Linked DNA regions of Homo sapiens: all the other regions are linked to region 2. The links are contacts of gene promoters, found by promoter capture Hi-C in blood cells and fetal thymus (Javierre and others, 2016). All regions are on one chromosome and are shown on one strand. Each heading gives the region's core, a stretch centred on a gene start or on the middle of the fragment in contact. The rest is flanking DNA. Distances are from core to core; before and after follow the strand shown.

Evidence for each region. The method cuts DNA at HindIII sites, captures the fragments that hold promoters and counts their contacts. A CHiCAGO score of 5 or more calls a contact.
Region 1: a fragment that was not itself captured here is called in contact with the fragment with the promoter of CTNNBIP1-AS1 in region 2 in 1 of 17 cell types (neutrophils); the score reaches 5.3 in neutrophils.
Region 3: a contact is called between a fragment that was not itself captured here and the fragment with the promoter of CTNNBIP1-AS1 in region 2, in 1 of 17 cell types (neutrophils). The highest score is 5.2, in neutrophils.
Region 4: a fragment that was not itself captured here is called in contact with the fragment with the promoter of CTNNBIP1-AS1 in region 2 in 2 of 17 cell types (neutrophils and non-activated CD4 T cells); the score reaches 8.0 in neutrophils.

The regions. Positions count from the first base shown.
Region 1 is chr1:10,277,099-10,284,490 of GRCh38, reverse strand. KIF1B (kinesin family member 1B) reads right to left here. Exons shown (of 49, transcript NM_001365951.3): 13 at 6,363-6,505; 14 at 5,353-5,394; 15 at 1,958-2,169. Among named protein-coding and RNA genes, the nearest start is that of KIF1B, 70 kb to the right of the region's middle. RefSeq lists an enhancer at 1,129-1,178 and a silencer at 5,134-5,334. The HindIII fragment of the contact is 4,728 bases long and covers 550-5,277 here.
Region 2 is chr1:9,846,737-9,853,345 of GRCh38, reverse strand. It overlaps CTNNBIP1-AS1 (CTNNBIP1 antisense RNA 1), which reads right to left and starts at 5,028. Exons shown (of 3, transcript NR_199045.1): 1 at 4,880-5,028; 2 at 3,872-3,977; 3 at 3,192-3,360. CTNNBIP1 (catenin beta interacting protein 1) reads left to right here. Exons shown (of 6, transcript NM_020248.3): 6 at 2,570-5,070. The coding sequence ends at 2,628. It overlaps LOC105376717 (a long non-coding RNA gene), which reads right to left and starts at 2,681. Exons shown (of 2, transcript XR_946952.3): 1 at 2,302-2,681. RefSeq lists enhancers at 1,288-2,088, 3,124-3,173, 3,254-3,393, 4,528-5,029. The HindIII fragment of the contact is 10,320 bases long and covers 1-5,353 here.
Region 3 is chr1:9,480,752-9,487,805 of GRCh38, reverse strand. No RefSeq gene overlaps it. Among named protein-coding and RNA genes, the nearest start is that of SLC25A33, 55 kb to the left of the region's middle. RefSeq lists a silencer at 4,770-4,970. The HindIII fragment of the contact is 2,490 bases long and covers 4,093-6,582 here.
Region 4 is chr1:9,577,559-9,584,937 of GRCh38, reverse strand. It overlaps SLC25A33 (solute carrier family 25 member 33), which reads right to left. Exons shown (of 7, transcript NM_032315.3): 6 at 4,704-4,984; 7 at 1-2,639. The coding sequence ends at 2,437. Among named protein-coding and RNA genes, the nearest start is that of TMEM201, 7.7 kb to the left of the region's middle. The HindIII fragment of the contact is 1,791 bases long and covers 3,501-5,291 here.

The DNA.
Region 1 (7,392 bases), core at 1,664-4,163, 430 kb before region 2:
TGGTCTTGAACTCCTGACCTTAAGTGATCTGCCTGCCTCAGCCTCCCAAAGTGCTGGGATTACAGGCATGAGCCACTAAGCCCGGCTTAATTTTTTTGTATTTTTAGTAGAGATGGGGTTTCACTGTTGGCCAAGCGGGTCTTGAACTCCTGACCTCAGATGATCCGCCCACCTTGGCCTCCCAAAGTGCTGGAATTACAGGTGTGAGCTACCGTGCCCGGCCTTATTTTTGTTTCTAAAGCATGTTTTTTTGAGATAGAGTCTTGCTCTGTCACTCAGGCTGGAGTGCAGCAGTACAATCACAGCTCACTGCAGCCTTAAACTCCTGAGCTAAAATGATCCTCCTGCCTCAGCCTCCCAAAGTACTGGGTTTACAGGTGTGAGCCACCATGCCCGGCCCACACTGTACTTTTGAAGTAAGTAAAATGTCAAGGGAAAAGGTAGGCTGATTAAGAAAGAAAAAGCAGAACCTCTTTCTTCATATAAAATCTTTTTCAGCCTCACATGAAAATTAAAATGAAAGCATCTGACATATTCAATTATCAAGCTTAATTCACTTTAGTGTTAAAGAGTTTTTCGGCAAGCCTTTTACCTATTAAATGTGTCAATGTGTCACTGTTCTCTATCGTCCTTGCATGAATGGCAGTCAAGGGGAATACCAAGTGACTGTGAAGAAGACTGCTGGCTGGCAGCATGACTGCAACTTCTCAGACTCTTAAAAAGTGTTTTTTGTCCTCCCTGTGTCCCCTACCCTAGCACTCTTGAACACAATGGCTAAAAGGTATGGGTCAAACTATCTTCCTGGAGGTGACAAGTAGGGAAAGAAAAAATATTTGCTTCAAAGCAGATGATGCTGTCACAGTCATCTGATGGGTGGCAGGATTCCTGAACAGCTTTCAGCACTGCAGGTGACAACTGTCTGTGCACTGAATTAATTGAGGAGGAAGAGAAGCAGCTATGAGTCAGAAGGCTCTGCTGCTCTTAACTTTCATATTCATACAAAGAGATAAGATCGAACCTGACAGAGCCAGCAAGGGGCTGGGAAATACCTCCAACAGCAAAGCTGGGAGCCATAGGCCAGTAATCTGCATACATGCAGCACTATGGCCCTGTGACCCCATGGGTACCAGCATAGGAGGAGATAACCTTCCTGTACAGTAATCATAGGGCATCAAGGCTTTCTGTGAACTTCTAGAAGATATAATTTAATAACTATCTGAATAAACCTGGAACAGCTACTCAAATGTTCTAACTTTATCTTTTTTTTTTTTTTTTTTTTTTTTTGAGACGGAGTCTCACTGTGTCCCCCAGGCTGGAATGCAGTGGCACGATCTCGGCTCACTGCAAGCTCCGCCTCCTGGGTTCATGCCATTCTCCTGCCTCAGCCTCAGGAGTAGCTGGGACTACAGGTGCCCGCCACCACGCCCGGCTAATTTTTTGTATTTTTAGTAGAGACAGGGTCTCACCGTGTTAGCCAGGATGGTCTTGATCTCCTGACCTCGTGATCCACCCCGCCTCGGCCTCCCAAAGTGCTGGGATTACAGGCGTGAGCCACTGCACCCGGCCCAAACTTCATCTTTATTAACAGAAGCATGGCTCTACACAGAATTCCATCTTTCAATGAAACCACGTTTCCAAATAAATTTCTAACAAAACAATTACACTGTAACTTGATGTACTATCCCAGAATTAACGTACACATCTATTAATCTGTTACTCTGCCTTGCCAGCCTATGAACTGCCCATGCACTTCTCCCAACTCTGCCTGGCCATGTCAGACTCAGGCATTCTAATGAAAAGAAATTAACTTACAAAGCACAAAATTCAATTTTCAGGACACTTCTAAGAGTCAAAGAGTTCTCCATATGCTGAGTCGAAATCTTAGTGATTTTTACTCCTAGTTCTTCCTTGTGGAGCTACATAGAATACCTTGTATTCAGTCTGAACTATTACTTACCTTTAAACGTTCAATAGCTTCCTCTCCTCCAGGTGTAGACATGATCCTCTCTTGAATACTGGTCACAGACGTCAAGCCCACCTGACTACTGAGTGAGCAGGAAGATGGGGATGAAGTGAGGGACCCCATGGATGCTGTGGAAAAATGGCCAGGGCGTTGATTCTCAGAGGCTAGCAAGTATCTATGCTTATTGTTCTGAAAATCTTTCAGATCTGGGAGATAGAAAGAAGAGAAGGCAGGAAAAGTAGGGAAAAGGGAAAGAAGCAGAGGAAGAAAAAAAGACAGGAAGGAATATCGTTGTAAGAAAGGACAGCATTAAAGCGCCAAGACCAAGACACGCTATAATACAAACACAGGTTACAACTGTTCTAGATGGCAGTTCTAAAACATGTCTGTCTTTAATAGTGGTATCCTACAGGTTCAGAATCATTTCTGCATTTACAAACTAAAAGATTCCAATGTAGGTTAACGCTGTATCTCGCAGGGGGATAAACCAGAGCCTCAAAGGATACTGCTTAGGCACTCTCCCTAAAAAAGCCAAACTACCTTCCATTTAGTCTTTCTAGTGTTCCTAGTCTACAATGTCTTCAGATTTACACTTTTCCAGTAGTTTGTAACAGTAAGGGAAAACAATGATCATTTATTTATCAATAATAATCCATATTGGTCTGGCTCAGTGTTACGTGTAATTCAGCAAAAATTTCCAAGAAAATGTTACAGTTAAAACAAAATTTGTGCACTGAGTAGTATGCTTTGTATGGCAACATTTCAACATGCTAAAAGGATTTTTAATATGTCTTAAATAAAAAAGGGGTAATTATAGAAATGAGAGGAATTTTGTATAAGTCCTGGTTAAAAACTCAGGACTAATTGATTGCCTCAACAGGGAAGAACAATTAGCAGATTAATGAGTTTTAGTGCAGGTTCCATTCTTCTGTCAGAGCAAGCAAAAAATAAGGCTGATTATTTGCTAATTTAAGGCCCTTAATTAGCCTAACAGTACAACCATGGGTCACTGCTAAGCCTGCTTCCTAGTATAAAATGCAAGTTTTAGGAACATACTTCCATTTACTAAGTCTTTAATAGAACTGTTAATTTTGCTTTTACACTCAGTATTGGTAAAAGAAAAAAAAATTAAGCCACAAACAACAAAATTAATTAATTTGCTGTTTGTACTTTCTTTCATTACTTTCTTTCATTAGTCATCCTTTGCAAAAAGATACCAAAGGTAAATCTTAAGTATTGGTGCAATCCAACTTTAAAATTAGCTTATTTTTAAACCTGAGAAACTAAAATTCATATCAAAACTAAGTCAGTTTTCCTCAAAGGAGATGAGTCAATACACATAGCTGGAAAAAAATACTATTAGTTCTCCCTGGGCTTACTCATCTCTACTATTTAATTAAAGCCAGTTTTTTAACTCCCTTAAAGCCAGTGGTTGCTTCAAGACAGTTTGAAAACCACCATCTGCAAATACAGAACATAGGGCAACAAGCAAAGAGGCATCTTTTAAAAGGGGGATAGGGATTAGAGCAAAAAATTAGCCATTGGGAGAAAAGACCAGGATGGACAGAGTTTAGGTCCAATGGTCACATGCAAGCCCTAAAAGGAATAAAGAGAAATAGATCAAAATGGAAACTGAGAAGGAGTCAGGGCTGCTTTCCCTCAGGAATACAGAATTAAAACTTAGTCATGCATGGTCTTTCAGGAAATGCCGCAGCTGCTAAGAAAAGAGGTAGGCAACAAGCTGGCAGCAGCAACACCTTGAGCACAAAAGCAAAAAGAAGAAGGCACCTTTTCCACACCAGTATCGTTGAGCTTTGGAAATCTCAGACAGAGCTGTTGCAGTCCAAGAGTCACTTCTGTATCAGGACATTATAGTGCCTTTAAGCCCTAACCTCATAACCACAGCCAGGGCTATGTTTGGTTTCTCCTATGCATTTTCTCACTGTCTGCCAAGCCTCATTACATGCCTTACTGTAGAAATAAGCAACTCAGGTGGCTGGGCTTGATGGCTCACACCTGTAATGCCAGCACTTTGGGAGGCCAAGGCAGGAGGATCACGAGGTCAAGAGATTGAGACCATCCTGGCTAACATGATGAAACCCCATCTCTATTAAAAATATAAAAATAAGCTGGGCGTGGTGGTGCGCACCTATAGTCCCAGCTACTCGGGAGGCTGAGGCAGGAGAAATCGCTTGAACCCAGGCAGCGGAAGTTGCAGTGAGCCGAGATTCCGCCACTGAACTCCAGCCTAGCGACAAAGCAAGACTCCATCTCAAAAAAGAAAAGAAAAAAGAAAAAAAAAGAAATAACTCAGTACAAATCTAAAAATTAGCCCCAAAATCAAGACATTTTTCTTCTAAGATAACAATTTCTTGATGAATTACCTTAAAAGGGTAAGAAATAATTTCCTCACCAACTTAAGATATATGTGGAGAGAATAATGAGGTTCATGTGACTCTTTAAAAATGTTTGAGTCATTTTAGACACCTAAGTTATTTTAATTTGTGACTTATGAAAAGAGGAATGGTTGGGTGTGGTGGCTGACATCTATAATCCTAGCACTTTGGAAGGCCGAGGCAGGAGGACTGCTTGAGGTCAGGGGTTCCAGACCAGCCTGGGAAACACAGCGAGACCCCTCACCTCTACAAATAAAAAATTAAAAAATTAGCCAGGTGTGGCAGCGAACAACTGTAGTCTCAGATACTCAGGAGGCTGAGCTGGAAAGATCACTTGAGCCCAAGAGTTCAAGGTTACAGTGGGCCACGATCATGTCATTACACTCCAGCTTGGGTGACAAGAGTGAGACTGTCTAAAAAAAAAAAAAAAAAAAAAAAAAAAGGAAAAAACGTTTATCTAATCATTCCGAGGCCCAAGTTATGGAGAAAAGCAACTTAGCACAAGCACTCATGAGTCTTAGCCCAACATCTACAGAGCTCTTAAATCATAGATAGTTTTGCTGACTAAAAATGATTATTGGTAAAAGGAACATAATAAAATATTTTCAGAGCCATTAACAGAATTAAAAGGGACAATATATTCAAGGTGCCTAGAATAGGGCCTGGCATATTATGCAAAATCAGTAAGTGTCAGTTGCTATCATCTATGATTTTTGGATTTAATTGAATCACAATGGGAAAAACTGAAGAGTAGAAGCAGCAAGAGATTCTTAAGCCTTTCAACTTCACTCAAGCCACAAACTGAAATTCAGCAAAGATTAGTTTGCTAAATGAAGAAGGGCAAAAATAGGATCATTTCTGATTCTATACTATGCTCTGTCTGGGATTTCCCTGTAAGGATTGCCAGCATGCAAAGCTTATTTTAAGGCTGATCCAGCAGAGGCAGATTAGCAAGTCAGAGTACTGGAAATAACCAATATGTGAAATACACACATTTGCTTCCACTTCCAGAGTAATCATCGATCAATGGATCAACTGAAGGTAAGCAGGAGGGAAAATACGAGAAGGGTCAAAGTTCAGGTTCAGCAGTGACACAGAGAGGGAACAGAGCAGTTTTTGGCATTTGGGGAGATGGAAAAGTTAATACTTAGAATACGGTATCATTTTTACAAACGGTATTCATCTAAACTCGGACTCTAATCAATAAGAAGAATTAAACTAGAAGAGGCCTTGAAAATCTTATTAGAACTTCAAGGAATATAAGTTTAACTTTACACTAAAAAAAAATGCTTTACTAAACTAACCCATATTCTACCATATTCTATTCCTATATGAATCCATTTTACTCACTTAAGAGAACTTCTGAATAAGCCACTGGATAGGCACATCACGGAGATTTTTTAAGATAAATTTTAATACAACATTGTAAAACAATACTCTCTGGAAGTGTAGTTCTTGAACTTCATAGGAATTGAACTTTTCCCCTTCATATGTTCATAGGCAGCACGGGGCACTCCAGCATTTTACAGGAGGAGGGGGCCATTCAAAGGTGAATCTTATCTGAAGGTAGGCTTGAATGGTGCGTTTCTTATATTACTGCCACGACACTAATCCAGAGCAACCCATGAAACAAAACTCAAAATTTCAAATAACATTTCTATGAAGTAATTAATTGCTCAGTGATAACAGGTTTAACGTTCCAAATAAACTTCATTGCTGATCTAAAACAGAATTCTAACAAAAATACTAGTGACATATTTGCGATTTAAAACTAATTTCCTGAGTTCAAATGGATAGTCTGGTACACATTACATAAAGGAATCTAGAGATCATTTCCATTGGGTTTTTTAAGGAAAAAGAAAACAAAACAAAACAAAACATTTTCACTACCATTTAGCTTCATCATGCTCCTTAACTTGAAGTTTATTTTAAATATAAGAACGCTGAATAAGAACCCTGAAGAAGAAAGGATTAGATTTTGTAACGATCCTTAATTCACTTACTATCAATAATATCTCCCAGGCCCTGAGCACGAAGAAGGTCCTTCAGCCGTGTCACCTCCTCCTTTAATTCACGAACCAGTTTGGCATTGGGGTCCTCATTGATAACAGCATTGCATTTAATTTGTTTTGCACGATCTGCATATCTAGATCCAAAAAGAAAATTTGTTCTTGTCATTTCTCATATGTTCTACTTCTCATAAGTAACATACTATTATCTCTAAATCAAATATCCTGAGTGTTTACATTTTATGAGCCTTGATAATAATACATTTGTATAAAGCTTTATAGTACCTATTAAAGATGAAGAAAAAGGCTCAGATGAATTTAAGTGATTTGCCCAAGATCACAATGGAAATAACAGCGAGAGGACTTAAACCCAACTTATGAGACTGTATAGTGTTTATTCCATTACATCAAGTGTCTTTCATGGAAGAAGGGTAGAGAGTTCCAGACTAAAGTAATGAAACCTACTCATACATAAAAAAATACAGGCCTCGGGAGGCAGCTCACACCTGTAATCCCAACACTTTAGGAGGCCAAGTGGGGAGGATCACTTGAGGCCAGGAATTTGAAACCAGCCTGAGTAACCTAACAAGACCCCCCATCTCTACAAGAAATTTTTAAAAATTAGCCAGGCCTAGTGGCATGCACCTATAGTTTTAGCTACTTGAGAGGCTGAAGTAGGAGAATCACACGAGCCCAGGTGTCTGAGGCTGCAGCGAGCTACAATCTTGCCACTGCACTCCAGCTTGGGCCACATAGCAAGACTCAAAAACAAAAACTAACAAACAAAAAAAACTTTTTATGAACATTCTGTTGGTAATTGTTTTTTTCTTTTTTTTTTTTTAAGAGACAGAGTCTCACTACGTTGCCTGGGCTGGCCTCAAACTCCTGTGCTCAAGTGATCCTCCTGCCTCAGCTTTCCAAGTAGCTAGGACTACAGGTGCACACCACTGCACCTGGCTATGTTGGTAATTTTTTAATATTGCTACATATTCCTATAATTTTATTACTTATTATGACTTCAGAA
Region 2 (6,609 bases), core at 3,779-6,278:
GAGACCTCATTGAATGACAAATACCTGGCCAACCAGTGACAAGGGTAGGTCAGAGAATGCTCTGGAAGAACTGAGAGCCTGCCTTCTCTTTCATCCCAAAGGAAAGCAGATCCTTGTGGTAAAGCCTGGATAATATCCTTAAGGAACAGAAGAGAGCACAGACAGGCCGCAGCTCCTCAGGCCTTTTCCTCTCTGCAGGGCTCCAGCAGCACAGTGGGAGGCTCTATAAATGCCACCAGGGAAGGGGGTGGCAGCTGGCAGTGTGGGAAGGGTAGGACTCTTGCAAATCCTTTGCTTCAAGTGTCTTGTTAAATAGCCATCAGAGTCCCTGTGTGACCTGGAGAAGATTACTTCCTTCCCACCCTCAGAGCGCAGGACAGGCACACACACTGGGCAGGCTGTGGAGTCGGGAGTCCTGGTCCCCAGGTCTGGGCTCCTCTGAGAAGCCAATGGCCCATTCCCTCTGTAGATGCACCATTCCCTCCTGGGGCATCCAGGGCTATTTTTGTGCCTGCAGCTCACTACAGAGGCCCAAGGTCCCTGAGCGAAAGGCCACAGGGCAGGCAGGGAGAGGAGTGAGCGGGCTGCCACCATCACTGCCACTAAGGCATCTTCTGCTGACAACTCCCCTTTCACAGACTCTTGCCAGCCCCCTTCTGATTAGCAAGCTGGGCAAGCAGCACTCAGGAAAAGTCGGCATCTGTTAGGTAACCAACTCAGCTGCCGTGCAGGGGATGATGTAATCTTGGATTCTGTGGTTGCTAGGAAAATTCTGCCTGCAGTGATATTGCGTGGTCCTAGGGCTCAGGCGAAAACAGAATGTTCCTGAGAAGACGGGAAGGATTCATAGGGCTTCCCAAGCGAGGGTGCCCCATCCTAGGAAGCTGGACAACTCGTGTCCCTTTCTAGATGCTTATTTCCCTTCTGAGCAATGGAGGTTGTGCTGGTAAAGCCAGAACCCCATGAAGGCGAGCTGGCAGTGGGAGGTGACAAGGCTCATTCCCTTAGCAGCACCTTGGTTCTCTAGTGCCAAGTGGAAGGTGTGTCTTGTGCATTGCATCCTTGTAGTTGGGCCCTCCATCTCTGGCCCTCCCGACAGCTGGGTGCGTCCTCCCTCTCTTGGTAGAGCAGTTGGAAGGAGGTCAGCACATGCCGGCTGTGGGGGAGACCCGGCTCACTGAGTGGAGGCCGGCTCACTCTGCTGACTCCATTTCACATGCCAGGAGCCTCACTTCACACTCCCCACACTGGCCCACCCTCGGGTGGCCTTTCCTGTCTCTCCTATTCCGATCCACCCCCTCCCAGAGAGAATACCTGCAGTAGCACAGACAACATGTCAGAAAGACCATGGGCAGCCAGACTGGTACTTTTCGGGGCAAAGTGAAGATCTGGCCTTTTACAAAGGGGGTGAGAGCAGCAGGACAGGGTCAGGGAGTCAAGGTGGGGCCCTACAGGTCACCTCCTGGCCCACAGCCCCTCCCTGGCCATGTCAGCCCCTAACTCCCCAGGCAGTTGTGGGTGTGGGTGGCAGGTCAGCATTTCGAGCTTTGCCCTCCTGCCACTGCCTGTCCTGGCCACTCATCAGAGCCTGTCCTCTGGAAAACAAGACAAAGGACGTGATTTCACAAGTGCCTGGGCCAGAATCTCAAATTCAGGATTAAGAAAAAGAAGGATTGGCTGGGCACGGTGGCTCCTGCCTATAATCCCAGCACTTTGGGAGGCCGAGGTGGGTGGATCATGAGGTCAGGAGTTTGAGACCAGCCTGACCAACATGGTGAAACCTCATCTCTACTAAAAATACAAAAAAATTAGCCGGGCGTGGTGATGCACACCTGTAATCCCAGCTACTCAGGAGGCTGAGGCAGGAGGATCGCTTGAACCCGGGAGGCAGAGGATGCAGTGAGCCGAGATTGTGCCACTATACTCCAGCCTGGGTGATAGAGCAAGACTCCATATCACACACAAAAAAAAGAAAGAAAAAGGAAAAAGAAAAAGAAAAAGAAGGATTGTGGGCATATCTGTCTCAGTCAGAGCCAGGCGGACAGCAGGCTGGACGTGGGCCCGGCCATACTTCTTGGAAGAGGTGTTGGGTTTGGGTGAAGGAGAAGCTGCTGCAAAGAGGAATGGCTATTTAAAACCACAGTGAGCCAGACCCTCCGAAGGCATCAAGACGCGAGTCTTGAGAAGAAAGAGGGAGGTTCCCAAGGGCCACCCCGCCTCTGGCTTTGGTAACTCTGGAGCAAGGGCTGTGAGCAGCGCTGAGCCCTGCTCCAGGTCACCTGGGGCCTCGTCATGGCTCACCTGTCAGCTGTGTAGCCTTGAGCAAGCCTCTGAGCCTCACCCTGGCAGCCCTGCCTTGCAGCCCTACAGCAGGGTTGCAAGCCTTGTCCCCAGCCAGGAGGCAGGGAAGACCAGAGGGGAGGAAGACTTCCTCGGAAGTACTTTGTCCTCAGAGAGTGCCGCGATCCTGGTGGGCGGGGGCTCCAGCTTGGCCGCAGCCTCCTTGCTTGTCCTGTTCGCAAGCCAATGCTGCAAGCCCCATCAGCGATCCTTGTCGCCTTATCTGCAGGTGCAGAGGACGTGGTGATGGCGTTTTCCAGGTCGGAGACGGAAGACCGGAGGCAGTAGCTGCAAAGCCCTTGGAACACCCTGGATGCTGTTGAGGGCCAAGAGATCTGTGTGGCTCCTGGGCCGGCTGAGTGGCAGCAGCCCCCCTTGCCCCACCTCCCCCTTCCCCTACCCAACCCTGCCCTGCCCCACCCCACCTCACAGCTACTCAGTGGGGCTGGCATCAAGGGAGACACCAGTGGTGCGTTTATAATTGGCTTAAAGGGATGGACTTGTGATTGGCTGCAGGAAGAAACTTTTTTATTTTTTAAATCTTGACCAACAGAAACCTTTTATTTTTATTTCTGACTCTTATTTTTTAAAAAATTTGCGCCTCGGTATCTGGCTTCCCTGGAAGCTCTCCGAGCTCTGGTGCTTTAGTTAGGTCATTTTTTTAGAAATGTGAAGAGGTCTGATTGGCTGCTTAAACTGGAAAGGATCTGTGATTGGCTGGTTAATGGGAAACGGTTTTTTTCTTTGGCTGCAGGTGTTCTGCTGATATCAACAGCTTCCCTATTTTGAATGCAGAAAACAGGGTCTGGGACATTAGTCGTTATATTTGACTTGAAAAGAAAGAAACCAAGTGCGCTTTGCAATATTTATTACACAAAGAACTTGCTGCTGCCTTCACATTTGGGGTTTGTGTTTGATTGGCTTTCGATGCGTGTGTTTGGTTTCCCATTGGTTCACCTGTGACTCCTGTTGCCATGGATTCACCCCCCTCTGCTGCCGGCTCTGGGCCTGAGGGTCCACCTGGAGAGTACATTTGCTTTAATGAGTGCACCTGCCTCCACCAGCAAGGGGACCCCGAGAACCCTGAGCAGGGTCCACAGCTGGAAAGTTGGGCCCCTGAGGAGCTTTGTGTCGTCTTGAACGAGCAGCCCAGGGCCTAGAGGTAACCGTTAGGCGGGATTTATGTGCACTGCCTGCATGAGCTGGCAACCAGCCAGCGTCCCTTGGTGAGAAAGGGATTGCTGAGGCACCGTCCAGGCCCCACCGGCCAGGCCGCGCCCAGCAGAGGCGTACTACCCAGCTCTGTCCTCTTGGCCATCCTTCTGTGTACCACTTCCTGAGGCCTCATTTTGGGGGTCATCTTGGAAAGGGGAGGAGCTTCTCCCAGTGTGAGACCCCAAAGACTCTGGAGGTCATCTGGCGGAGGTCTCTGGGAGCCCAGAACCCACATAAAAGCCCCAGCTTGGCTCACAAGGCCCAGGAGACCTCCAGCTAAACACCAACCCCTGACCTACCCCAGCCAGGCTCCTACCTGTCTGCTGCCAGCACAGTAGGTCCCGGCCAGCTCTGGAGTTCTCTCATCGGAGGCCCATGCCCTCCACTCCACTGCCTTTGGAAGGGTCTCTCTCCAGGTCAGCCTGGAAGGGACAGTATCGTTTGTTTATGAAATGCCACTGGGACAGCTGGCTGGGCCTTCACCAAGCAAGTCCCTTCAGACTGGCCCTTAAGCCAAACTCAGGCCCAGAATTGCAGTTCAGAATGGCAGTCCTGGAGGCAGGGGGTGAGGGGCAGGTCTAGTGTTCCTGCACCAAACCTAAGTCCTTCCACCTGCCACCCCCTTCCCTGGGAGGGAGGTGGTCCTCCTATCTCCCTGGCTCACTGGCAGGTGTGGGATCTGGGGAGAGCGGCTGGAGAAAGATGCAGTCCTCAGGAAGGGGGCCGCCACCCTCCCCTATGCTGGTAGATGCTGAGGCCCCTAGGTGCCCAGGGCCAGTGGGACCCTCTCAGAACCAAATCTTTCCCCTTTCTCGGGGCTTGGGGCTCGGGCCGTAGGGGCTCCTGAGTGTCATGAAGTGCACAGGAGCCAAATGACCGAGCCCTGGAGAGCCCCATGGTGGGTAGGTGGTTCGTGCTGTGCTCTGGCACCATCAGCCTGTTCCAGAAGGAGGATTCGAGCATCAGGCTAAGACCCTGTGTCCTCCACCATGCACTCACCCCTAGCCCTGGTTAGCTGACAGTCAGCTGTGGGGAACACAGCTACAACCCTACCCTGGCAGGGACCTGAGAGCATCTCAGGAGGGGCAGCGCATGTGTGCATGTGCTGTGTGAGTGAGCACACCCGTGTGCACACTCATACACATGTGCACACACACGCACTCTCCCCGCTCAGGGGCCTGGAGGTCTGGCTGAGCCCCTGGGGAAAGGTGAGTTCTTTCATCTCCCTCCTCCAGGTCGGAGTGCCTGGAGTCAGGTGTCGAGGCCACATTGCTGGCTGCCCCCTCTTTGTAGCTCCTATAAAGGGCCCACACCTGGTGGATACCTGGTTGAGTGTGTGGTCTCTGCCCCAGCCTGTCCTTGTCACGATCACAGGCCTTGCTTTTGTAACAATGATGACCCCGGCCTGTCTCATCTTCTGAAGAGGAAAAGTCAAAGTGTTGCTGTGGCTCCATATTTCAACTAAAAATATATCTGTTGGAGAAAGAAATTAACAATAAAGAATTTTCATAGGTTCGTGTGTGAGCTGAGCTGGTTTCTCCCTCGGAATCAGGCGCTCTGACTGATTTCCCCACATCACGTGGGCTCTGCTGCTGCGGGGGCCCCTCCTTCCCAGGGAGGCGCAGCCAGGAAGGACAACACCAAGTTTGATAAGTGTCTGTGACCTGAGTTGAGCTCAGGGTTTGGAAGAATTTCTAGATCTACCCAGCCCAGCTCAAGGGTCGTTAAGAAGGTTGAACCTTCTTTTTGACCTGGAGATTCTAAACATCATTCCAGATTCAACTGAGATCAGTAAGCTTCAGAGGCAACCTCGTCTTCCACACCTATGAAAAGACACTAAGCACTCCGTAAGGATGTGGGGACCCCGCCATCCTAGGCACCCCAACATCCTGATGTGATGGCACCAGTTTTAAAATGCTTGTTACAGACACCCAAACAGAATATCTGTCCCTTCCACCATCCCAGAAGTGGAAGATATATTGGTTTTTAGCTGTATGTACAAGTTTGGAAGCTGAAATCATTTCTGCTTCAATAATTTTTGCTTCAGAAGCATTTTCTAGAAATTTTCATTTCCACCCTTCATAATCCCATTTTTGGGTCTTTTTTTTTTTTTTTCTGTTTACATAGTCTCACTGCTTCTATTTCCTTTTCAAAGAATTTCACTGGGTCCTAGAGGCTATGGAGTTTACAGAATATGAGTACAATGGCACAACCAACATCATTAAGTCTTTGTGTTGGGGGAGATACTGGGTCTTGTAGCAGCCCACGCAGTAGCTAGATGCACAAGCCCCTCTGAAACATTTCTGAAAAGACCTTGTCCAGGCTTTGCTTGAATACTCTCTCGAGTTGGGGAGCTCACTACCTCACAAGTTAGTCCAGACCATGTTCATGTAACCTATGCTTATCCTTACATTAAGTTGATCTGCCTCTTTCTGTAACTTCTTGTCCAGAAAGGAGTTTGCAGTCATTGAGAGAAAGACAGAGATTGCTGTGTTAACCAGAAGTTACATAGAGACACACATCCAAGGGTCCGTGGTAGGTAGATTATGTGCAGATTCCACCCCTTGCCCAGCGCTCTGAGTGACACTGTCAGCCTTGTAGTTAATCAGCTCTTCTAAGCTGAGCCACTGAGTAGTTCAAGGGACTGACCGGCTGGCCCTGGTCCCACCTGCCCAGCCCCCAGCAGAGAGCTTGGAAACCGGAGCCAAGCGGGGTCGTCCTCCTGGCGCTGTCTAACCTGTCTAAGCTGCCTAAACTGTCATGGGAAGTAGGCCACGTAAATGAGTCGGGGACACTTCAGCAGGCAAAGGAAAAACACTGGGGACAGCCTTGGGTCTTTCGGGGTCCGTCAGCCCACACAGCAGGCAACCTCCTGGGTCACCTTCCCAGGTACGGGATGGGGTAATGACCCCAACAGGCAGCGCTGGGACTGCTGCAGCCAGAGACAGCAGGGGGCCAGGCTGAGCCTGCGGGGAAGGAGGCAGAGCTGCCGGAGACAGCAGGGGGCCAGGCCGAGCCTGGGGTGGGGAGGCTGAGGGCTGTGGCCCTTGGTGT
Region 3 (7,054 bases), core at 4,088-6,587, 370 kb after region 2:
TGAGTAGCTGGGACTGTGTGGTGGCGTGCACCTGTGGTCCCAGCTACCCGGGGGAGCCGAAGTGGGAGAATCGCTTGAGCCCAGGAGGTGGAGGCTGCAGTGAGCTGTAATTGCACCATTGCACTCCTGCCTGGGTAACAGAGTGAGACCCTGTCTCAAAAAGAAGAAACAAAAAGGAAAAATAAAAGGAAAATATAAACCTAGATTTTTTTTTTTTTTTTTATGGAATGAGATAATGTGGTAAAGCTCCCCGGCAGTGCTTGGCACATGGGAGATGCTACACTGACTTTTTTTTTTTTTTTTGAGACAGAGCCTCGCTCTGTCACCCAGGCTGGAGTGCAGTGACGCTATCTTGGCACACCGCAACTTCTGCCTCCAGGGTTCAAGCAATTCTCCTGCCTCAGCCTCCCGAGTAGCTGGGACTACAGGTGCTCACCATCACACCTGGCTAGTTTTTGTATTATTTGTAGAAATGGGGTTTCACTGTGTTGGCCAGGCTGGTCTTGAACTCCTGACCTTGGGTGATCCTCCCATTTCAGCCTCTCAAAGTGCTGGGATTACAGGCGTGGGCCACCGTGCCTGGCCTCCACTGACATTTACAGGAGGCCTAGGATGCTGGAGTGACCGGAGGAGGTGGTGGGAATGGACTCAGGGCTCCAAGATTCCCCACTGGGCTCCTGGCTCTGCTCTCAGATGGAATGTTCTTGGGGCAGAAACAGAGACATAACAGGCAGCAGTCTCCTCTTGCGGCTTGACAGAGAAGATCCGGAGAGGGCAGAAACGCGGGCCAGAAAGAGGGGAGAAAATTCAGGCTGGATTCAGGCTCAGACTGAACAGAAACCCACGAGTATTGCAAACATTCTCCATCTGGCCACAGCCGCGTCTGTAATCAGGCTGATGAGAAGTACTCGCACCAAAAAGCAACCCTGGAAAAAAGAGGATGCTTCTTATCGGGGGCCTTCCCTTTCTTTCGGGTCTTTCCGTATGGAATTCAATGATGACTTTGGAGGAAAGTTTGAGGAGAAAAGGCAATAAAAGTGATGGAGAGGTTGTAGGGCCTAATTATGGGGAGAGATGAAATGACAGCTTGGCTGTGGCACAGTCCTGGGGGAGACGTGGCCTCATGCTGGCTGATGTTAAGGGTCCAGATGGAAGGAGAAGTTGGGGAGAGTCTGGGAGGATGTGAGGAGGAGGAATGAAGTGCTGTTATGAAAAGGAAGTGATAGGCTGAGGTTCAAGAGGATTTCTGGGCCAAAAACCCATTGAGGAGAATAATGGTCTCCCAAGGGCCCTGGAAACACTCCATTGCTTGATATAGTCAACATTTTACAAGATCAAGTCTCAGGATCTGTTCTGTCGGGAGTGACCACCTCTTCCCCAACTTGGATGTTTCATCTCCAGGCTCTCTGCCTCTTTTACCCGTTTGTGTGGGTTTGCAGCCTCGGTCTTCTGGGCTGTGGACAGGGCTCTGGCCCTGAAACACAGGCTGGGAGGCGAGTTCAGTGAAGAGGACCAGCACGCCTGCCTTCTGCTCCTCCTAGGAGAGTCTCAAATAACAGATGGCGGAATAGCCAGAGAGCATCTTCATCCCGCCGGGGTCAAAGGAGGAAGGAGCAACCAGATGAGGTGGGAGGCTCTAGGAATACTAGGGGTAAGCAGTCAGTGGGCTTCTGGTCTCTGGTCCGAGCTGACACATATTTGAGCGGTTTCTCTTCTTCCTTTTTTTTTTCTGAGATGGAGTCTCACTCTGTCGCCCACGCTGGAGTGCAGTGGTGCGATCTCAACTCATTGCAACCTCTGCCTCCTGGGTTCAAGTGATTCTCCTGCCTCAGCCTCCTGAGTAGCTGGGATTACAGGCGCCCGCCACCATGCCCAGCTAATTTTTGTATTTTTGGTAGAGATGGGGTTTCACCATGTTGGCTAGGCTGGTTTTGAACTCCTGACCTCAGGTGATCCACCTGCCTTGGCCTCCCAATGTGCTGGGATTACAGGCGTGAACCACTGCGCCCGGCCCCATTTGACTGGTTTCTTTTGGGACAGTTTCTTTGACTTCTCTAATTCCTCTGTCCCATGGGGTCATGATGCCTCAACACTTCTGATTTGCCCTCATGTGTACCAGTTTCAGGCCAATGGCCTCCTTTATCTATTCAGCATTCGTAGTTGAAGCCAACCTTAAGAGTGGCTGAAAACATTCCAGATCATCTGGGGTTCATGGGAAAAGTTGGGGCTGGAGATATATGTCTGGGAGTTGTCACCACGTAGATGGCGTTAGAGCCCTGAGTTGGGGAGAGTTCACTTAGGATGTGAAGGTGGGTGGAGAAAACAAGACTCTGGCCTTGAGCTCTGCGCCAGCCAATCTTAGAGGCTGAGAGACTTGGAGGAGGAGGAAGAGGAAGAGGAGAAGGGAGTGGGATGGACAGAGGATCCCAACGAGCACTTACAGAGCATTTACCACGTTCCAAGCACTGGGAGAGGGAGCTGGAGGGCCCCACGCCTGGCCCTCCAGTAGCTTCCGGGCCATTGGAGGAGGCTGAGTAACAAACCGCCACCATCAGACTTGGCAACAAGTTCATTGAGGGGTTAGTTGCTGGGGCTTGGGCAGTAAAGAGAGGTGCATCAGAACCCTACAGGGTATCCAGAGAGGGCTCCCAGAGCCTGAGACACGGGAACTGAGTCTCAGAAAACAAGTGAGTGCTGGAAAGTGAGGGGCAAGGTGATCCCGAGAGCCCACAGGAGAGGCGCAAACTGAGAATTGCAGTTGTTAGATGGGGGTCCATGCAGAGGGGCAGGGGATCCCTGATTGGCAGAGCACTGGGAGCCTTCTGTTTGGGTTTGATCCCATGGGGCTGTGGCCACAAAATCAGGGGTTAGGGGTCAGCAAACTATAGCTTGCAGGCCAAATCCCTCCTGCTGCCTGTTTTTGTACAACTTGCAAGCAAAGGACGATTTTTACTTTTTTTTTGAGACAGGGTCTCACTCTGTTGCCAGGCTGGAGTGCAGTGGCGCGATCTTGATTCACTGCAACCTCTGCTTCTTGGGCTCCAGTGATCCTCCTGCCTCAGCCTCCTGAGTAGCTGGGACTATAGGCGCACACCACCATGCTGGGCTAAATTTTTGTATTTTTAGTAGAGATGGGGTTTTGCCATGTTGGCCAGGCTGGTCTTGAATTCTTGAGCTCAAGCAACCCTCTAGCCTCAGCCTCCCAAAGTGCTGGGATTACAGGTTAAGCCACTGCGCTCGGCCAAATTTATACTTTTCTTAATGGTTGGGAAAATAAATCAAAAGAAGAACAATAGTTCATGGCTGGGCGCAGTGGCTCCTGCCTGTAATCCCAGCACTTTGGGACGCCATGGCAGACAGATCACCTGAGGTCAGGAGTTTGATACCAGCCTGGCCAACATGGCAAAACCCCATCTCTACTAAAAATACAAAAATTAGCTGGGTGTGGTGGCACATGCCTGTAATCCCAGCTACTCGGGAGGCTGAGGCAGGAGAATCGCTTGAACCCAGGAGGCGGAGGTTGTAATGAGGCGAGATCACACCACTACAGCTTGGGCAACAGAGCAAGACTCCATCTCAAAAAAAAAAAAAAAAAAAAAAGAGGAGTAGTAGTTCATGACATCTGACAATGATATGAAAATCAAATTTCAGGCCAGGTTTGGTGGCTTACACCTGTAATCCCAGCATTTTGGAATGCCAAGGTGGGCAGATCACTTGAGGTCAGGAGTTCGAGACCAGCCTGGCCAACATGGTGAAAACTCGTCTCCACTAAAGATACAAAAATTAGCTGGACATGGTGGTGGGTGCTTGTAATTCCAGCTACGCAGGGGGCTGAGGCAGGAGAAAGAGAATTGTTTGAATCTGGGAGGCGGAGATCGCAGTGAGCTGAGATCATGCCACTGCTCTCTAGCCTGGATGACAGAGTGAGACTCTGTCTCAAAGAAAAGAAAAAAGAAAATCCAATTTCAGTGTCCATATATAAGGTTTGATTGGGACAAGGCTTCATCTGTTCAGAAGCTATAGGCAGTGTGTGCTCTCCAATGGCAGAGTGGAGGATTTGCACTGAGACTGGTGAACTGCAAAGCCTAAGCTTCTCACATCGAATCCTTTAGAGAAAAATTGTGGAGGCTTTGTGACATGGTATTTTAGACACCCAGTGGTATTTTAGACACCCAGTGGCAAACAGGACAGACAGAAATTGGGGCTCTTGTGGTTTCCATCCTGGAGGGGGATGCCTCTCTCCAGCATTGCCTCTTTCTGAGGGCAGAGACCACGTGGATGGGATCGGCTCCTGGTTCTAGGATTTCTCCTGTTCCTCTTCCCAGGAGTGGAGTCAGCTGTCACAGGGAGCCGGTGACCCTTAAGGCCAGGACCTGCCGGAGCCTCCCATGTCGCTGCTCGCTCTCCAGCCCTCTGGGAGAGGTGACGTGGGCCGTGTGGGGCCAGTGCAGGGCACCCTCTCTGGCATGGCGTTTATGACGTGGTTGTAACGGGCTCCAGGCCAGGAAAAAGATGTACCTGCTCCTACAAAAGCGAGCCCTTCTCATGAGTGCACTCTCTCTCCCTGGTGGAGTAGCAGTGGGAACATCTTTTACCCAGAGCTGAATGTTATTGTTTTGTTTTTCCTTCAGGGACGAACTGTTCACTCAAGGGCAGGCACCAAACCTTGTTTTCTGGGGAGGGGAGGCCACCTCCCATGGCTCCCCTGCAGGGACTCACATGGTCCTTGGAGCTCTCCCTTGAAGGCTGTGAACAAAGACAGAGCGGTCCAGCCCGGGAGTTCATAGCTCCCTTTGGAGCCCCTTGGCTCGGCCGGCCTCTGACTTCAGGGTTGCTTGGCTGAGCAGGGTGCTCCCAGTGTGCTCCTTGGTGTGAAGATATGCCTGTGTCACTTCCCGAGTGTCCCAGCAGCTGGCTCAGGCTTGGCCACCCTTGCTCAGCTGGAGAGCCCCTCCATCAGCAGAGGCAGCCTTGTCGGTGGCTAACAGCAGGGCCTGGAGCCTGAGTGCTGGGGTACAAATGTCGCTCTGCCACTTAGCAGCAGTGTGACCCGGGCAGGCTGCTTAACCTCTCTGTGCCCTTGTATCTATAAAATGTGGTAATACTAGTGCCTGCCTCGTAAAGCCTTTATGAGAATTAAGCGACTTAGCATCTGGAACATACTTAGAACAATGCCTGTGTGCAGGCCGAAGCAGACCTGTCTAGGACACTAACCCGCTGTGTTGACTTCTGATTATCACCAGTTCCAGGAACGCCTCTGAGATTTTTATTTTGTCTACTGCTCTTGCGTAAGAACATGTACTTTCGGTAAATCCTGCCTTTAGGTCAAAATAACCTTTTGAAAAAATATATTAAAAAAATATAAATAGAGACAGGGTCTCACTATATTGCCCAGGCTGGTCTTGAACTCCTAGTCTCAAATGATCTTCCCACCTCAGCCTCCCAAAGTGCTGGGATTACAGGTATGGGCCACCACACCCAGTCCCAGAACAACCTAGACCATAAGCCCTGCCCTTAGGCAGATTCACTTGGCATGCTTACCTTTCTCTACAATTGTCTTATATATTGCTTCCCTATTGGTGTATAAGCCCTGGGTCTGGGAGGGAATGGCGTAGGGATCCATCATCTTGCCTTGCAGCCGCCTGAAATGATGGCTTCTGTTCCTAAGTCCCTATTAAATTTCCCTTCCGAAGCTGGGTACGGTGGCTCATGCCTGTAATCCCAGCACTTTGGAAAGCCGAGGCAGGTAGATCATTTGAGGTCAGGAGTTTGGGACCAGCTTGGCCAACATGGTGAGACCCCATCTCTATTAAATATACAAAAATTAGCCAGGTGTGGTGGCAGGTGCCTGTAATCCCAGCTACTTGGAAGGCTGAGGCAAGAGAATCACTTGAACTCGGGAGGGGGAAGTTGCAGTGAGTTAAGATCGCGCCACTGCACTCCAGCATGGGTGACAGCGAGACTCTGTCTCGAAGACAGAGAAAAAAAGTTCCTTTCTGAGAAATGATATATCAGCCTCTTTGTTCCACCTCTCAGCTCCCTTGGACTTTGGGGGCAGGTTTGCACAGATTTGCACACTGCAAAACAATGGTGGCACAGAATGTTCCTACGCGTTTTTGTGACATAAATAAACAGAGGGAGGTCCTCAGAGGGACCCTGGCTCTCTCCTTCTCTCTGTTCCCAGAGCACTTTATGAATTTGCTCTTCTAGCACCTGGCCGTTTTGTTATAGGGTCCAGGGTGGGCACTGCCTGAAATATCTGTGCCCCGTCCATTACCTTGCAGAGCACCTGGCTCAGTGTAGGCTCTGGGTAAATGAATGAACGAATGAGACACCCCACCTTCCCCAAATTGGTAGAAAATGTTCCTGGAAAAATGAGTCCCTGTGAAGGAAACTTTGACCATAATTTCCAAAGGAATTTCAAAGCAGAGTCCATGTTTCCAGGGTTGACCAGCACGGCTGCTGGGTCTGGCTGGGAACTTGGAGGTTGGCCAAGTGAGCCCAAAGCGAGCGTGTGGCAGGGAGGGAAGAGCAGGTGCTTGTACGACAGGATGGTGAAGGAGGCTTCCAGAGGACGAAGCTTTGGGCCAGCCAGGACCTGCCCTGCTGAGCCCAGGAGAGAGGCCAGCACCTGCTGGCACTCAGCCAGTGGTGGTTTCCCCCAGGACAGTGTGGAAAGGGAGGCTTGTTCGTTCTTTTAGGCTAAGTCTTAGGAGAGACTAGGTTATTAGAATTTTAAGGGCTGGAGCTGAATGTGGTGGCTCACACCTGTAATCCTACCATTTTGGGAGGCCAAGGCGGGTGGATCACCTGAGGTCAGGAGTTCAAGAGCAGCCTGGCCAACATGGTGAAACTCCATCTCTACTAAAAATACAAAATTAGCCCGGTGTGGTGGCTGCTGCCTGTAATCCCAGCTACTTGGGAGGCTGAGGCAGGAGAATTACATGAAGCTGGGAGACAGAGGTTGCCGTGAGCCGAGATTGCACCACTGCACTACGGCCTAAGCGATAGAGAGAGATTCTGTCTCAAAAAAAAAAAAAAAAATACTGGGCAT
Region 4 (7,379 bases), core at 3,147-5,646, 270 kb after region 2:
TGAGACCAGCCTGGACAACATAGCAAAACCTCGTCTGCACAAAAAATGAAAAAACATTAGCTGGGCATGGTGGTACTTTCCTGTGGTCCAAGCTACTTGGGAGGCTGAGATGCGAGGATCCCTTGTGCCCAGGAGTTTGAGGTTACAGTGAGCTATGATCTTGCCACTGTATCCAGCTTCAGTGATCGAGTGATACCTTGTCTCAAAACAACAATAACAACAAAGGAAGGGGCGGCGCGGGCCAGGTATGGTGGCTCCCTCCTGTAATCCCAGTACTTTGGGAGGCCGAGGCGGGTAGATCACCTGAGGTCAAGAGTTTGAGACCAGCCTGGCCAACATGGTGAAACCCCATCTCTACTAAAAATACAAAATTAGCCAGGTGTGGTGGCGCATGCCTGTAGTCCCAGCTACTCAGGAGGCTAAGACAGGAGAATTGCTTGAAACCGGGAGGTGGAGGCTGTAGTGAGCCGAGATTGTGCCACTGCACTCCAGCCTGGGAGAGACAGAGCGAGACTCCATCTCAAAACAAAACAAAACAAAACTTCTGGAATAGCATTACTGTCATGTATTGTAAAGTACAGAAGCTTCACTAAAGTCACTCATTTTGACTTCTACGTAGTTGTTGGAGCAATTACACTAGAGTCAAGAACCCCAGTTAAAAGTAAACTCAATTTAAAATAACTTGGAAATATCCTCCTCTTAACCCTACCAGGGTGTCTGCAAGTAAACCTGAAACTACAGTGCATAGGTATTAGAAATGAGTATCTTTCTAGACGTTCAAATTGAAAACCAACCTTCATGTACAATATACTCAAATTCCAGTGAAAGAGCTAATGGAAGACTAGGGGTTTTACTTGCCTTCTTCTTAGTATCATCTTTTTGTTCCCTTATTAAATTTGCTTTAAAACCAAGGGGGTAACATCCTGGTTTTTTTTTTTTTTTTGAGATGGAGTCGCACTCTGTGGCCCAGGCTGGAGTGCAGTGGCGCCATCTCAGCTCACTGCAAGCTCCGCCTCCCAGGTTCACGCCATTCTCCTGCCTCAGCCTCCCGAGTAGCTGGGACTATGGGTGCCCGCCACCACGCATGGCCAATTTTTTTGTATTTTTTTAGTAGAGACGGGGTTTCACCGTGTTAGCCAGGATGGTCTCGATCTCCTGACCTCGTGATCTGCCCGCCTTGGCCTCCCAAAGTGCTGGGATTAAATTTTTTTTTTTTTTAATGTTGAACTAGGATATTTAAACAATCCCAGTGCTTTCTATCAGAATGTGAGCTCTCTGACGGGTGAGCCATAGTCCTACGTTGTGCTCCTTTTCTGCAAGAGCAGAGGTCCAAGAACAGGGCTAAAGACCTCAGTGGGAATGACTGTTCTTCATCACATTCTGGATTCACAGCCAAACAGGGTAGCTGTGCTGTCAACACACTTAACAAGGCAACTGGTCTTAACTTCCGGAACTATATCCAGGAGCCAGGCCATTGATAAAACAGTTCTTTAAAAATTCTTGCCTTTGGTTCAAAGTAGGGAGAAAAGGATAACTTCAGGAAGTTTTTTATAGCTTAAAATATTGAGTCTCAGAAAGTTATATATATTCATCTCAGCAGTCTGAACGCTTAGATGATCAATCTGCAAGTAATTGGAAATGTACAAAGAAGAAAAATTGCTGGGAAGTTTGTCCTGGTCCACACACCACCACCAAAATGTGACACAATTTTTTTTTTTTTGAGATGGAGTCTCACTCTGTCGACCAGGCTGGAGTGAAGTGACGTGATCTCAGCTCGCTGCAACCTCTGCCCCCTGGGTTTCAAGTGATTCTCCTGCCTCAGCCTCCCAAGTAGCTGGGATTACAGGCACACGTCCGGCTAATTTTTGTATTTTTAGTAGAGACAGGGTTTCGCCATGTTGGCCAGGCTGGTCTGGAACTCCTGACTTCACGTGATCCATCTGCCTCGGCCTCCCAAAGTGCTGGGATTACGGGCGTGAGCCACAGTGCCCAGCCAAAATGCGACACTTCTTCCCTGTCTAGCAGTGCAAGATCTTAAAGTCAGATTATAAAACAAGTTGTATTCTCACTTTATCATTTTTCTCTGCAGTTCTAGGGCAGGTTTATCTGAATTACTTAAGTCCTTCATAGTATAGTGAGCATAAAAGAGGACACAAGCCAAATGTATACTTAAATTAAATAGCATGATTTAATTTAGTTGGTGCTTAACCCTGAATCCTCTTAAGTTAAAAAAAAAGTTATAATTAACTATTAACGTTAATGAATTTAAACCTTCCAGAAAGCATGAATCCAAAAGGAAATGTCCAACAGGTGATATGAACCAGATATTTTATGGCCTTTCCTGTTTCAGTCTCAAACTTTCTAAACATCAATGGGGAAAAAAAATTCTCTAGAGTTTTTCAGTTTTATTCTTCTAGAGCACAATTTTCCGGCCTGTTACTGAGTACGGTCTTCTAACAGGTACACAATTAACTCATAAGTAGACAACACAATGGCAGTATTTGGGATCTGCCGGATAAGCTGGGCAAACAGTCCTCTATAAAAGGCAAGGTAGCCTTCTTCCCGGAACACCAGGCGCGCCGTCTGGACAAAAGACTTGTACTTGGTGCCCTCTTCCCGGAGCCTCGTCCTTATGACTTCTGCAGAGAGAGAAAGACCTACTTTACGCCACATATTAAATGGGGAACGAATCCACAGCACACAACTTTAAAACTGTCAAGGTTAGGCCGGGTGCGGTGGCTCACACCTGTAATCCCAGAACTTTGGGAGGCCGAGGCGGGTGGATCACTTGAGGCCAGGAGTTGGAGACCAGCCTGGCCAACATGGTGAAACCCCGTCTCTACTGAAAAACAAAAATTAGCCAGGCAAGGTGGTGCACGCCTACTACTAGAGTGGCTGAGGAATGAGGATCGCTTGAACCTGGGAGGTGAAGGTCGCAATGAGTCGGGATCGTGCCACTACACTCCAGCCTGGGCCACGGAGCAAGCAAGACTCTGTCTCAAAAAATAAATAAATAAAATAAAATTGTCAAGGTTACAACTGTGTCTATTTCCCACCTCAGCTGTATTTGGACAGGAAAGTCACATAACCTAGAGAGACAATGAAAAATTAAGTTCTTTTTAGAACCTTTTCCAACTCTAGGATTTGGTCAACTATGGACACTTACACATACACGAAAGTACAAAATAACTTTTTTTTTTTTTTTTTTGAGGCAGAGTCTCACTCTATTACTCAGGCTGGAGTGCAGTCGGTACGATCTTGGCTCACTGCAACCTCTGCCTTCTGGGTTCAAGTGATTCTCCTGCCTCAGCCTCCTGAGTAGCTGGGATTACAGGCACCTGCCACCACACCCAGCTAATTTTTGTATTTTTAGTAGAGACGGGGTTTCGCCATGTTGGCCAGCCTGGTTTCGAACTCCTAATCTCAGGTGATGTGCCCATCTTGGCCTCCCAAAGTGCTGGGATTACAGCAAAATAACTTTTAAGGGGTTAAAAAAAGCTTAGTTTCAATGAGACTTAATGTTAAAATAATTCATGGTTTTCTACTCCCAATTAAGCAAATGCTAATTTGTATGAAGTATGGCAATACCTTCAACGAATTCTTTTCTTATATTTTTCAGTTTCCTCCTCCTCCTGGAAACGTTTTCTACTCTGCCCAGCTCAAAAGCCACCCTCTCCTTTGCCAGCCTTTGCCCACCTGGGCCTCCTTCCCAGACACCTAGAGTTGGACATTCGTCACTCCTGCCCTCACACAGACCTCAGACCCTGGGAGGCATCACTGACCTCTTTCCTCAGATGTCCTCTGGGGTCAGCTTAGTGCTCCAGGACACAAAGGGGACTCAGCACCTGTTACTGAGTTGACTGTATGCATTTGCCATAGCTGACAGTACAGAAGGCTTATGAAAATAAAACCTGTTTTTCATGGCACAATAAACTAAGCATTTTTTAAAATAAGTAGGCCAGTAGGTCAAGAATTCTATAACTCAAAAAAATAAACTTACCCAAAGTAGCCTTAAGGCTCCATTAGAAATAGAGGCTGAATGATTATTATTATTATTATTATTATTATTATTTTTTTTTTTTTGAGACAGAGTCTCGCTCTGTTGCCAGGGTGGAGTGCAGTGGCTTGATCTCGGCTCACTGCAACCTCCACCTCCCGGGTTCAAGCGATTCTCCTGCCTCAGCTTCCCAAGTAGCTGGGACTACAGGCGTGCGCCACCACGCCCAGCTAATTTTTGTATTTTTAGTAGAGACGGGGTTTCACCATGTTGGCCAGGCTGGTCTCAATCCCTTGACCTCATGATCCGCCCGCCTCAGCCTCCCAAAGTGCTGGGATTACAGGCGTGAGCCACCGTGCCCCGCCGAGGCTGAGTAAGTTTGGCTCCCATATTATCATTTTGATTCAAGGAATATTAAATACAATCCAGATTTTTAGCTTCCTTGAAAACAGCAAAAGTTCAGCAACCCAGGACCTGCGTTTCTGCACAACAAGTTTTGGCTATAATCAGCTGGATTTGAGTAAGGTCGAGTTCCCACCACTCACGTGACCTCTGTCCATGCGGTTAGAGCTGTTTCCCTCATACTCACTGACCTTACCTGCAGGGATCCTGCGCCTCAATGTGCGCCTCAGAAGTCTAGATATACCCACAAACAACAAACGTGACAGCTGTTTTACTGCTCTGGAAGAACAAAAGCAAAACATACCGTGTGGATAAGCAATGCAGGAGGCACAGCCCTTAGAAAGAGCAGCAGCTGCCATAAGTCCAAAAAAACTTGTGGAATTTTTCTCAGTCCCATTTGCAGAAGAGGCTAATGGAGCTTCTTTCAGATACTTCTTTAAACTTTCATAAATAGCAAAGCAGATTATAGTTTCGGAAATTCCAGCATACGAGGCAGTTAATCCTCTATAGAAGCCACGAATGCCTTCGGTCTGGTAAACGTAACGAGCACACTGGAGTGTATTCATCTGCTTAGAGCCCCTCACTCTGCATAAAAGAGACCAACACAGGCTGTTAAGGAGACATATCATGGTGGAACACAGACATCACACAGTAGGAGAACAGGTACGGGTCTTCCTTATGGTGTTAGGATACTTGTTTCCTGGCTCCTAACTCTCATAGCCCTTGTCTTTCGTTATGTGGGGTGTGTGAGGCCGCAGGGGCAGCCTCTGACAGTCCCTTGATCTCCTTTCACCTGCCCCAAGGCCATCCTCTAATGTCCTTACCTTGTTGGTCTTACTCCATGAGAGTCCCCTCCTATCTCTGGGAGAAGGAATGCTGCTGACATGAAGCTTCCAGAAAAACCCAAGAGGACAGGGTTCAGGGAGCTTCCAGAGCTGATCGCATGGAGGCTCCTGGAGGGTGGCCCCCGGGGAGGGTATGAAAGCTCCACGCCCCTTACTCTGTACCTGGCCCTACCTGTCTCTTCTTCTGTATCCTTGCGATGTCCTCTATAACAAACCAGTAAACATTAAGTGTTTCCCTGAGTTCTGTGAGCCACTCCAGCACATTAATAGAATCCAAAGAGAGGGTCATGGGAACCCCAACTTGAAGCTGGTCGTTCAGAAGCTCTGGAGGCCCAGACATACAACTGGTGTGTGGGTAAGTGGGTGGGCGGGGGGTGGGCAGTCCTGGGGACTGAGCCCCCAATCTGTGGGGCTGTCTCCTGGTAGACAGTGTCGGAAGTGAATGAGAGGACACCCAGCTGGTGTCCGCTGTTTGGTGTGTGTGGGGAAAACCCCCTACACATTTGGTCACAGAAGTCATCTTCTGTGTCAATGACTGTTGTGGTGTGACAGTGGAGGAAAAACATGGTTTGAGGAGAGTTTTTCCCACATATCTTTGTACTGTTGTCAGCTGACCTCCAGCCCACTGTGAGGCCAGACCAAGTAGCTGGCACACCTGACAGGCCCACAGAACACTAGCTACATCTGTATCAAGAGTCATAGAAACATGTTCATAAAAACATTAGCATTTGACCTAATTTTAGAAAGAGCTGCAGGGAGCAGTAAGGCTCATCACAGAGGAACTACAACTGCAAAACAATCAGGACAACAATCCAGATAGCTGACCACGGTATATCTGCTAGATTAAGTCACAAGGCCGTGAGACACAGGGAATGCTTTCAGTGGAAAACAGGACTAAGTTAAAGGTAAAGGATGATCACAAGGGCTGGGAGCAGTGGCTCACACCTGTAATCCCAGCACTTTGGGAGGCCAAGGCGGGAGGACTGCTTGAGGCCAGGAGTTCAAGACCAGCCTGGCCAATGTAGTGAGGCTCTATCTCTACAAAAAAGTAAATAATAAGAAAGAAAAATAGGAACATTCCAACCTGTTGGTGAGGCTACTTATTAGATTTCTGATCACACTCGTCTCCAAATAGATTCTATTATTGCTAAATTTATAAAATCATAAAACATCAAAATAAAACAGCAAATGAAAACCATGAGGTTTAGAGGCTCCTACCCCAGGACAAAAAGCATTTATGAACTGCCTGGCTGCAAGGCAAGAGTGAGCCACCAGATGAGTGTAGTTAGGTGTGCACCGGTCACACATCACAGACCCCTCCGAGCGGGCGCAGACCTGGGGCCCCTTGGGCTTCAGTCTCAGCTGGCCTCTCTCCCTTCTTTATTATCTCCGCATAGACTGTTCCCGCTCCTTAGCGGCAGTGACCTTTCTAACACAAATCCAACCATGCAACTCCCGTGCTTAAAACCATCCAGAGGCCGGGTGCGGTGGCTCACACCTGTATTCCCAGCACTTTGGGAGGCTGAGGTGGGCAGATCACGAGGTCAGGAGATCGAGACCATCCTGGCTAACACGGTGAAACCCCGTCTCTACTAAAAAATACAAAAAATTAGCCGGGCATGGTGGCGGGCACTTCCCAGCTACTCGGGAGGCTGAGGCAGGAGAATGGCGTGCACCCGGGAGGCGGAGCTCGCAGTGAGCTGAGATGCACCACTGCACTCCAGCCTGGACAACAGAGTAAGACTCTGTCTCAAAACAAAACAAAACATCCAGAGTTTCTCACCCTTGGCGCTATTCACATTTGGGGCTAAACTATTCAGTTTGGGGAGAAGCAGGCTGTCATGTGCCTTGTAGGGTTTAGCAGCATCCCGGCCTCTATTCACACTAGGCACCAAAAACACTCACCTAAGTTGTGGCAACTTCAAATGTCTCCAAACTTAAATGCTGAATGTCCCCTGGAGGGCACCCCCTACCTCCATCCTCCATTTCCCCTGAGGACCACTGCTCTGATGACTTTCCACTGCCCTCAAAGCCCAACTCCAAACTCCCTTTCAGGCCTGGGAAGGATCGGGCTCCCCTGCTCCTCCAGCCTTATTCTTCCATAACTCCCTTCTCCAGCGCAGATGCACGTACTA